Regions from separate parts of the Homo sapiens genome. Here regions 1 and 2 are each linked to region 3. The links are contacts of gene promoters, found by promoter capture Hi-C in blood cells and fetal thymus (Javierre and others, 2016). All regions are on one chromosome and are shown on one strand. The core of a region is centred on a gene start or on the middle of the fragment in contact, and the rest is flanking DNA. Distances in the headings are between cores, read along the strand shown. Region 1 holds the start of SLC36A4 (solute carrier family 36 member 4). Region 2 holds the start of SNORA25 (small nucleolar RNA, H/ACA box 25). Region 3 holds the start of DLG2 (discs large MAGUK scaffold protein 2).

Region 1 (3,527 bases), core at 906-3,405, 7.6 Mb after region 3:
TTTCAATAAGGCCCATCCCAACCATTTTATAAAATACTGTAAACTGCCTAGCCCCCACCCTCATTCCTGATTTCCCTTACCCTGCTCTTGTTTTCCATAGCACTTTTCACCTAACATACTATATAATTAACTGGTTATTGTCTTTACTGCTTACTCTCTGCTTCCCATTACTAAATACAAGCTCCATTAAGAACAGGAATTTTTATCTGTTTTGCTCACGATGTATCTCAAGTGCCTAGGGGAAGCTCAATGAATATGTGTTGAATTAATGAAAATATAAAACTTAAAAAAACTGAAATAATTTGAAACTTTTTTTCAGTTAAAGAAAATGTACATGCTGAACATCTTTCCACATCACTTTTAATGGTAGGCAATGTAAAACTATACCACAATTTAACCAATTTCCTTTCATTGTACTTTAGTTAACAGCTTTTCTCTATATACTATAATGAAAACCTCTTGATATAAGTATGGGTTACATTACTTATTTCCTCGGGAAATATTCTGAAGGAGAATTGCTGGGTCAAACGATAAGCACTTTTTTTTTTTGAGACAGAGTCTCGCTCTGTTGCCCAGGCTGGAGTGCAGTGGCACGATCTCGGCTCACGGCAAGCTCCGCCTCCCGGGTTCACGCCATTCTCCTGCCTCAGCCACCCGAGTAGCTGGGACTACAGGCGCCCGCCACCACGCCCGGCTAATTTTTTGTGTTTTTAGTAGAGACGGGGTTTCACCGTGTTAGCCAGGATGGTCTCCATCTCCTGACCTTGTGATGATCCGGCCGCCTCAGCCTCCCAAAGTGCTGGGATTACAGGCGTGAGCCACCGCGCCAGGCCGATATGTACATTTTTAAGGCTAAATATATTATCCCTTTCCTGCCAGCAATGCATGAGAATACCCATTTCTCCATATCCTCACTAAGACAGGTTATTAATGAATGAAACCTGAGTTCACATTTGGGTTCTGCCATTAATAAGCTTAAAATTACTGTATCTATAAAATGGAAATCATGATAGCACCTATCTCAGTTGCTGTGAGGATTAAAGACAATGCATAGGTAAAGCACTTAGCACAGTGTTTGCACACAGTAAGCACGCAATAAAATGTTAAGTTTATTGTTTCTACCATTATTACGGCCTGAAAACAATTCCATTGCAAAGTGCCCTGCAGGCTATTAGAGGAATAACAACAACCTATCAGTTACTTATAATACGGTATTTTTTAAAGTTCAACGGTTTTCTTGAAGATTCCATTTAGATTTAATTTTTTAATTACATTTAATCAGCATCGAATGAAAAATACTCCCAAGTACAGTACGTATAACTGGGAGAGCGATCATTTTACCACCCTGATCCTTACTTTTTTATTTTGGACAGCGGGAAACCGTAAACAAACACGCCCTGTCGCCAAGAAACAAGATGGGAGGAAAGCAGCAAAAAACAAACAAACTTTGCCAAGTGAGCAAGCTACAGGTATCTCCTGTTCATTCTGGTCAGCACGACCTGTTCGAAACTCTGGGATAACAAGGAGTAAAATGAGGATTCATCTGGAGATTCCGAATGGGGCTGCAGCATTTGAAAAGCAGAACAATGATAACTTCCTTAAAGCATCATTGGGAAAAAAACCGTGAGTCACGGCGCAGGCTCTTGCGTCTTTGACGTGTACCCACAGGGCCCCGCCCCACTCAACACACACACTCACCCACACGCGCGCGCGCAAACACACACACACATATTTTAACGCCCTATTCAGGCCTGGGCTTCGTCTGACCAAGTTCTCGGGGTCAGATAACCGGTTCCTTTGCGGATGCTGACCACGGGGTCAGTTAGCAATCGGGCCTCAACTCAGGCCAAGCGCGGGGCCCCTGGAGGTGTGGGCGCACCCGACTCCCGCACAGACCCCCGCCCACGTCAGCCCCGGCTCCCTGCCCACGCACAACACCGACCTAGCTCCTCGCGCCTCGCCGCCCCGGCAGCCGCCGGCGTCGCCGCCGCTTCCATCTCTCGCGGGTCTCCAGGACGCCGCCGCCCGAGTGCTCACTCTCCCGCCGCTGCGTGGCCGGCGTCAGGCCCAGGCCTACCTCCCCTGCCCGGAGGGACCCGCGCCTGGTGCCCGCCTCCCTGCCCCGGCGCTCCCCAACCGCGCGGCGAGGAGCATGCGCAGTGGGACAGCCCGGCTCGGCGGGCACCGCCGGCGAGGGGCGGGAGGGGCCGAAGACCCGAGGACTGCTGCGAGGCCGGGTTGGGTAACCCGAGAGGAGGGTTGGGTAACCTGAGATCAGCGAGGGTGGGACCTTAGAGCTAGCCGAGACCCGGGCCCATAGCTCCCTGGGGGTTTTAAAGATGACGGCGAACTTAAATTTGGGGCGCCTGTCCGTATGCAAGGCGTTAGCGTTCTGTAAGTCACCTTGGAGAATGCGAAGAAGGACGGGATTTGTCCCCTACCCATGCTGAGGTTCTGACTACTCTGGTTATTCGTCTCCCTGTTTCTATAGTTAGAGTTACAGGAGACACTTAAATAGAATTTAATTAAGTCATATACAATTTCACTTTCAGGATATTTCAATGTCCTTCCAGATATTTGACGTTGACCGTGGTGCTGAAAGAAAATTAAGGTAAAGACTAAGTGTACTGATGTAGTTTCAAGTACTCCTAAGCACCATACATACATTATCTTTAATTCTGACTACAATTTGTGAGATAATTCTAATATTTACATTAACGCTAAAGATGAAGGGATTAAGGCACGGAGGTAAGTAACGTGTCTGGGGACAGGAAGCTTGTACATGGCAGAAGTAGAATCCTTCTGCCTTCAGAGCTGGAGCTCTCGAAAAATATGCAAAGCTGGCCTCCCAGATGGGTACCAATGAATATTCGATGAATCAATGGATGAAGCAAGCTTTTGGTTTAAAAGGAAAATATTTATTTTAATTTTAAAATCGCTTTCTTTTTTTTTTCACTTCATAGTTCTTGGAAGTCAGTACACCAGACAATCCTTTTTATTTGTGTCCGTTTCATTCAGTGGGGTTGCTTTAGGAAAGGGTTTTTTTGGGGGGGAGTGGGTCTGATTAACAGTCACTGATGTAACTATATGGCAATGGTGTTAAATATTTAAAATTCTGAGATTAAAAAGGTACGCAGTTACATACTATCTACATCTTTCCTCCTGTTGCATCCTCTGTAGGCTTTCACTAGATAACTAGTGATAATGACAGTTTGCCAACCCCCTTTCTTTTCCTTTAAGTGAACCCAATTTGTTCACATACATACACATGCAAATCCCAAAAGAAGGTTTTATTTGAAGTGTTCCTGACAAATAAAGGGGTAAAGGAGATTTTTTTTAAAAAAGAAGAAGAAGAAGAAATCTATTCTGGAACATAGCTAGAGCAATGTTCCCTAACCTGTGTTGGGGTGGATCACCTGGTTAAAGATCAGCAGGAGAGAAGATAGGCATCAGACAGAAATTATAGGACCAAGGTAATTTTCCATAAACCACTCATTATAATGAGAACATGTGGGACAGCATCTTAA
Region 2 (3,849 bases), core at 1,117-3,616, 8.1 Mb after region 3:
ACTATCCCTCTGAAGAACATACTGAAATATTACAAAACAAGAAAAAAATTGTTCATTTCCAGCTTTCTATAGGAAACTTAAGTTCAGTCTACAGTTCATCTGATGAAGCTAATGTATTTGATCAGTTAAATGTACAGCATAGCACTCCATGTGGTTCTAACTCTAGTGAGTGCTCAACAAAACACCAACTAGAAAGCAGAAAGGAAAGTATGGGCTTTGAAGAACTATCAAAAAGAGGGGTTGTTACAATGTTACAAAGTCAAGGACTCATTGAAGATAATAAAAATGAAACCTGTAGGGTTTTAGACATAAATCCACAGGTAGAGGAAACTGACTCTCGATTATGTGTAAGAACAGTGGAGATGGGAACTTCAATTCAGGCACCATATTCCTTAACTACTCAAAATGAAAAATATTTTGAGAATTCAGCTGAAACAGACATTCCAAAAATCACCAAAAAACTATCTCAACTAGGAGAATCAGAGCTTTTTGCAAGTTCTGGATCATTTTCATTACAGAGCTCTATACCAGTCTGGGTAAGTGAAATCAGTGTTGTATAAATAACATTTAAATTCCTTTTTGGGAAAAAACTTTTTTCTTCTAAAATTAGAGATGAAGTTCCCACTATGCTACCCAGGCTGAACTCAAACTCCTAGGATCAAGGGATCCTCCTGCCTCAACTTCCGAAGTAGTTTGGACACACCACAATGCCTGGCAGGAAAAACCTGAAACAAAATACAAGCAAAACTGCTTGTTAATATTGCTATCCAGCTTGTGATCACTAGAAATATCCAGCATAATGCAGAAACTTAAAAATTTGAAAACTGTCTTCTGAGAGTATTTTACAAAAGATCCTTTTTCTCCCAATTCAGATATCCTTTCTCCAACTTCCCTGAAAAATGGTGGTTCTGCCTGTGCTTCAGCACTTTCAGTGTTGAGCCTCATTCCAGTGCAATGAATTCATCCATTATTGGAATAAGTATTGGAAACCTGCTCCTCATATTAAGCAACTTATAATCTGCTTGCTTTCAACACCAGTCAACTGGTGACTGGTTTTCATCTAGCAGTATGTGCAGTTTATCCTTCCACAAATAAACATAACAGATTGAAAATAAGAATTACAACTAAACCACGTTTTATGTGGCTGCTTTTGTTCTTGTTGTGTTTAGATACTTTTGAAACATTATCTGTTAGCAGTCAGTGGCCCACATTTGGTAGCAGCCCAGTCGACCCCTGCTCCCTTTAAAGGATACAATTCGGCACAGCCAACCTGCATTTATATTTTTTGCCCAACACTACAAGCATTTAGGTTTGTAATCATTGTGGTAGATACCTTTCAGTCCATTGTCACACTATTTCATCCCCTCCCCAAAGTAGGCTCCAGTATTTCTACAACTGAATGCTGGAGTTATGGAAGCCTAAGGAAATCTGATCTGTTGGTCTTTGCCAATCATTGCTTTTCTTCCTCCATTTTCACATTTATATACACTTGCAAAAAATGTGCATTATATACAAAACGATTAGTTTAAGTCTTTTAAGGCTATTTTGACATGGTTTTCCTTTTAATTGTGGTTCACAGGAAACAGAAACTGGCCATGGTATAATGGAAGAACCAGAACTTACTTTAATAAGCACCACTGATACCAGTATTGCTGAAATGGATTTTGCAAATTTAACCCTAGAAGAGAAGAGCGAGAATGAAGCAAAATGCTTCTTTCAGGTAAATTTAAGCTTTCCTTCTATTTTATTCTATTACAAGCAAACCAGTTGATTTGTCTCTTACAACTTATCAGAAGGTACTCATTGGAGGGAATTATGCTATGCATTTAACTAAGCCGACACCCCCACCAGCTCTCAATTTGTCTTAAACCTTCACTATTCTGTCAACCATTGTGCATTTTCTTTTAATCCCCACTCCAATTTATGCCTGTCTCCAAGACTGGCAGAACTAATCTTATACACCTAGTGTTATAGTGCCAAGTTGGAAGTTTTACCTAAACTTATTCCCAGATATTGAAAAATGACTTCAGAACAACTGGTAATTTTACTAGGGGAGTAGGGAGGCAATAAGAATAAAGCTATCTAAACAGAGGCCTAGAGGTGTGAGGGCAGTGGAGCCTAAGCCCAGTTCAAGACCAGCCTGGGCAACAAGGCAAAACCCAATCCCTACAAAAAATACAAAAATCAGGCATGGTGGCGGGTCTCTGTAGACCCAGCTAAGATTGAGGCTGCAGTGAGGTGTGATCATGCCGCTGCACTCTAATCTGACAGCAGAGCAAGACCCGCTTAAAGCGTTTAAAAAGAGTAAAACATGCAACTTTCTTGCCATTAGGTGAGTGAGTTTCTGCCTCTTGTATCAGCAACAGAAGCCTCAGATTATCCAGCTGTATCAGAACTTTCCATAGAAAAACCAAGGACAGCATCTACAGGTAAGCCTTGGACGGCCTCCACACTTCTAATGGAAAGTAGATACTTTGCCTATTTCTGTCATAAATTTCTTTTCCCCCAGCAGAAACCCCTCGCAGGCTTACACCTGTACCAGGGAGCTTACAAGAAGCATTTATAAAGAGGAAAAAATCATTTATGGAGAGATCCCACCAGAGGCAGAAAGAAATAAGGAATAAAATTCATGTCTCTGAAAATTCTCAAATCAAAACAGTTAAAGAGAAACCATCTATAAGTATGTTGAATTTTTAAAATCTTCAACCAACTCCCTGAAATGTTTAAAGCCTTGTGTTTACAACTTGATTTCACTTTTCTTTCCTCAGGTTCATCTGTGAGTCGTCTAAAGGGCGTGAATAAAGTCAGAGCATCTTTTCCTGAAGACAGAAAGACTACACAGGCTCTAAGGCACCAAAGGGGTCTAAGGTAGGGTTAATTTTTTTTTTTTTTTTAGTGATTCACTTTTTGCAGTGTTTGTCTCTAATTCTATATAAATTCTTTACAGGTTATACAATCAACTAGCTGAAGTGAAACAACAAAAGGAAGAAAAAACAAAACAAGAAGCTTATGCCCAAAACAGAGCAAGGGCAAAAGAATTCCATAAGGTGAGTATAACTGAGGGAGAAGGACTTAATTTTTCAAGCATGAAGTACACAACTGAAACTCAAATTTTTATTCCTTCCACAGAAAACACTAGAGAAACTTCGAGCCAAAAATACATGCTGACTTTCTAGAAATAGTGTAAAGGTTTTTTAATTGTGTATATGTAGCATTAGACAAAATTATTTAAAGTCAATAAATTGTTATTCGAGGAATTCCATGTTGTGATTTCTTCCACTGTCCATCAAGGTCACTTTAGATCCTCTAAAGAGCTGGAGTCAAAAGATTTATCTTCAAGTTTGCCCTGAAGAAGAGAAATTTTGATTAACCTTTAAAACTCTCACATGGCAACAATCCTGGATTATTACGTTTTATATCTCCTCAGGAAAACATAGCACCAAACATTAGGAGTGCTATGGCTTCCTATAGAGAACTTCCATCTTTGGTCACAGCGTTAAGAGCTCTGGGTTTCACAGCCTCATAAGCCCTCTTTGAAATGACCCATACAAATGTCTTTTCTAATGCATACATACCTTTTTAATGAAACTGATCCAGTTGTCCTGTCAGCCCTACATAACAATAGTATAAAAGTAAATTTTACATTTCCAGAGATGAGTGTACAGTGAGTGAACATGAATGAGTCCCTAGAACGAGCCTGAGTTAACTCTACTACAAACTGCTTGGTTATTAGCAACCCACAAGGGTTACAATATAAAGGCAAAGCAAATTTGCATGATTCAAGAGATCTAGGAGAATTTTCAAATCTCACTGATTTTAAAGAAAAATCACATGTGGTTCACATTTTAT
Region 3 (3,613 bases), core at 1,114-3,613:
AGAACTTTTAAGAAACTCGGTTTATGGGGTTTAGAAACATTAAGTTCTAAACTTTCTAACTAAACCTGCTTAGTTAAGTTATACCTAGAATATCAATTGACCTTCCTCCTCTTCCTTCCCACATACCTTTTTATCTCTTTCTCTGTCTCTCCTCCTTCCCATTCTCTCTTCCTTTCACTCTTTTCCTCTCTGTCTCTCTCTCTCTCACACACACACGTAATGTGTTTAATTCCATTATTAGTTCAAAATAAGGTAATCCAAAAGAAACTCTCTAGAGAAATGGTAGAAAGAATAAAAACACACATCAACTTAAATATGTCAAAGAGCCATATCATTTATTGGCTACATTCCCAAAACCATTCTTGTTCTAGATAAACCAATTGTGTCTGGTCTGGACAAGTGTGGCTCCAAAATCTCAGGCAGTTTACTTCTGTCAGTGGTATTATTAGAAACAGCAGGGGGAGGAAACAATCCCAATCTTAAATCCCAGTGTGCAAATATCACAGTTCTAGGTGTTCCAAAAGTTTTATATATCATTGTCCATCTCTACAAATATCAGCTTGGATAAGGCATCTCAGTGATTATAAGTTTCCTCAACATCCCTAACAAATCCACAGGTAGAAGAATTAAACACCATGCAGAGATAAGTTCCACTTTAACCTGCAATTCACCCAGAGCTTTAGTTTCAGATTGTAGCAACTCACATAACTGGACAACATTTGGATCTATATTAGTCCAGTATAGCAGAGTTCAAGGCTGTTCATATAAGTTTTGATTCAAAACTCTTGAGAAACTCTTTACAGTTGATCTCACCTTCCATATAATGTCAAAACAAAACAAAACAAAAACAGTCCCAAACTAGGATCCTTTGGAACAAAGTTAACCTGGGGTGCATCTAAGCTAAACTGAATCCCCAAGTTCAGAATATAATCAACTATGCTTCAGGAATTCACTAGATCTTGATCAATTCCAATAATAAAAGTTGTTGAGGAGGGAGGAAAAAAACAGGTGTTTGCCCCATTTGGGGAACTTGACAATCATGTTATTGGATAATGCATATATCTGGAAAAGCACAATAGTCACGAAAGTTGTGCTTTATCACAAAAGTGAAGATTTACACTAGAATAAATCCAAATAATAAGTCTATTTTTTAACCAAAAGATAAATTATAAAGCTGTAATTTTGTTCAGTGCAAATGAAATTACTTTGCTACCTTTCACAATTCTGTAATTAGTTTGATAAATATTAAACCCATGAGGAAGAGCTCCACTGCACAAGTTTCTTTTTTAAAGACTGCTTAAAAGTAACCTTCAACAAGCTAAGAAAACAAGCTAAAGGAGACTCCAAATCTGCGGTACTGAATCTATTCTTATTACCAACGGTGATATAAACAACCTGATTTATGAAATCATAAATATCTATCAATAAATACTATAGTCTTGCTTCCTTTTACTTTAGTAAAATAATATTACTGAATTATGTACCACTGAAACTATATTACAATAAATATTTCCCCCAAACTGAAGCAAAACTTTACTCTCAAATGGAATATAATTTAAATTACAAGTACCAGAACCAACAAAAGGGAGAAATATTATATAGCAACCTTATGGCCCACCTGTCTTCTTGACTGGCATTCTTGGGTCTTTCCACTGCCACAGGAGTCAATATCTCTTTTCAGGTCTCAGTTTGATCCAGCTGGATTGAGGCCAAGAGCCAGGTAACTGTTGCAAACCACTTCAGTGTTCAGTTTTGAAATCCAGGCTGAGTCTTCTATGTCAGACAAAGAAAATAATGATGTATTTTTTCCACAACTAAACTTTTTACACCGCCCACAGAGTTTACAGCAACGTAATTTTTTAGTTTTTCAAGTTTTTCAATTTTCAGAAAATATTTAGACTGTTTTTACAAACTGGGAAAATTATTGTAAACATGAAGAACGTTACTGAAATTCCTCTTCAGGCAGCAACATTTTTGGAAGTTCAATGACTAACTCAATTAAGGCACAAACCAAATTTAGACAGGTCTCATTACTTTATACATGGTCAAATTCAAAGATGATGATAAAGATACTCAAATCTGTAGAGAAAAATGTAACCCCACCTCCCCAAAAATACTTTTAAAAATCTCTTTGACTCCAGTCTCTAAAAAGATAGGTGAGTTTGAACAGTTTTCTGTGGCAGAACACACATTGAAAGGCCCCCTTATATTTACTGATCAGAAGTTCCGGATCTCACCCCCTCAGTAACTCAGAATCCAGCTTGCTGTCCCTTTCATTTTTTTCTTCTGTGCTCTCCAAGCCCCCAGGCTTGATCCTTAATGCCCCTCTGATTCTGATCCTCCCATGTATTAACCGAGAGGATTGAAAAAAAAGGAAAGCAATCCCTTGGCATGGAGACATTAAAGTGACAGTGCTACTCAATGGGCACTTGATGCAGGATGAGTTGGCGAAGCAGATTTCTTCACACTGGAGTCATTCACATCATGCCATCTCTTCGCATTCAAGCAGCTCCCTATCCGGCGAGGAAAAACACTGAGACTTCGAGAGAAGCCAAACCTTCCCCCAAAGGTGTTTTCAGAGACGCCGTAGTAGTATTAGACATGTAAGCATAAGCTATGTAAACGGTCCGCGATTTCCTAAATGAGAAAGTGCAGCTGCTTGGCTTTCACATCCACCTTTTCTCTCAATCTCTCTTCAAACTACCCACCTTCCTTTTGCAGAAAAGACAAGACATTTCTTTGCCACCGCTGGCCACCCCTGCCCAAGCCCCGTTCTTTTAGGGAAGAGCACTGAAATGTCCTGCACCCTCCACGCGATGAAGTGTTTCCTCAGGCAGGAGCAACAGCAGCACTAGAAATTATATAACTCTCGAATTTGGCTTCTGTAAGACATGGAGACTGGAGGGTCGGGGGTTGCCGGTCTGGGAGATACTGCTGGGCATTTAACGTGCACAAAACAGCGCCAGGCCTTGCAGTGCCCCCCACCCCGAGACACGGCTGACAAGTGGGTCTTCTCGCGGGGGTAGTGGGCAAATTTCTCTCCGGTCTCTTTCCAAGCGGGGCTAAAGGATGCAAATTGAGGGGACTACAGACTGGGGAGAGGAGTCAGACGGCTGAGAGGAGAGGAGGCTAGTCGGGGCTGCTCTGACGGCGCTGGGCGGCTGGTCCGGGGTTTGGAGGAGGAGGTGCCCGAGAAACAGAGCTTTAACACCACACAGGCCAGGGCAAAGGGGCGAGTTCCCTCAAGGACTGAAAGGGGCAGGCAGCTAGTTCCCAGCTGCCCTGAGGAGAGGCAGGAGCGCAGTAACATTACAACATTCGGGCCGCCCCATCTTTCCCGCAGGACGCGAAGAGATCAGGGAGCTAAGCTGATAAATAGTCAGGGAAGGAAATACTCGGCTGGCGAGGGGGGCAGGCCCACAGGCGCCTGGACCTCCTCTAAGCGAATAAGTGGCCGTAATTTCTAGACGCCGCGCCCAATCACAGTCAGGATGGAGGGCGCGGCTTTTGACTGAGTGGGGGCGGGCCCGGGCTGCAATCGAGAGGCGTTGAGCCGTAAATCAGCACCACTTCCCGCCCAGGGCGTTCTGGGTCCCCGCCCACCGGCAAGTCA

Evidence for each region. The method cuts DNA at HindIII sites, captures the fragments that hold promoters and counts their contacts. A CHiCAGO score of 5 or more calls a contact.
Region 1: the fragment with the promoter of SLC36A4 here is called in contact with the fragment with the promoter of DLG2 in region 3 in 1 of 17 cell types (naive CD8 T cells); the score reaches 7.3 in naive CD8 T cells.
Region 2: a fragment that was not itself captured here is called in contact with the fragment with the promoter of DLG2 in region 3 in 1 of 17 cell types (neutrophils); the score reaches 5.7 in neutrophils.

Annotation. Positions count from the first base shown.
Region 1 is chr11:93,195,836-93,199,362 of GRCh38, forward strand. It overlaps SLC36A4 (solute carrier family 36 member 4), which reads right to left and starts at 2,156. Exons shown (of 11, transcript NM_152313.4): 1 at 1,943-2,156. The coding sequence starts at 1,997. RefSeq lists a silencer at 1,918-2,297. The HindIII fragment of the contact is 1,801 bases long and covers 973-2,773 here.
Region 2 is chr11:93,727,102-93,730,950 of GRCh38, forward strand. It overlaps CEP295 (centrosomal protein 295), which reads left to right. Exons shown (of 30, transcript NM_033395.2): 24 at 1-536; 25 at 1,580-1,720; 26 at 2,333-2,429; 27 at 2,513-2,680; 28 at 2,769-2,868; 29 at 2,948-3,047; 30 at 3,130-3,257. The coding sequence ends at 3,168. It overlaps SNORA25 (small nucleolar RNA, H/ACA box 25), which reads right to left and starts at 3,545; the gene lies at 3,412-3,545. It also overlaps a transcript of TAF1D not described here. The HindIII fragment of the contact is 1,275 bases long and covers 1,730-3,004 here.
Region 3 is chr11:85,624,981-85,628,593 of GRCh38, forward strand. It overlaps DLG2 (discs large MAGUK scaffold protein 2), which reads right to left and starts at 2,364. Exons shown (of 28, transcript NM_001142699.3): 1 at 2,238-2,364; 2 at 1,607-1,773. It overlaps TMEM126B (transmembrane protein 126B), which reads left to right and starts at 3,613. Exons shown (of 5, transcript NM_018480.7): 1 at 3,613. RefSeq lists a silencer at 271-471 and enhancers at 2,410-2,918, 2,791-2,950, 3,031-3,080, 3,221-3,410. The HindIII fragment of the contact is 9,013 bases long and covers 1-3,613 here.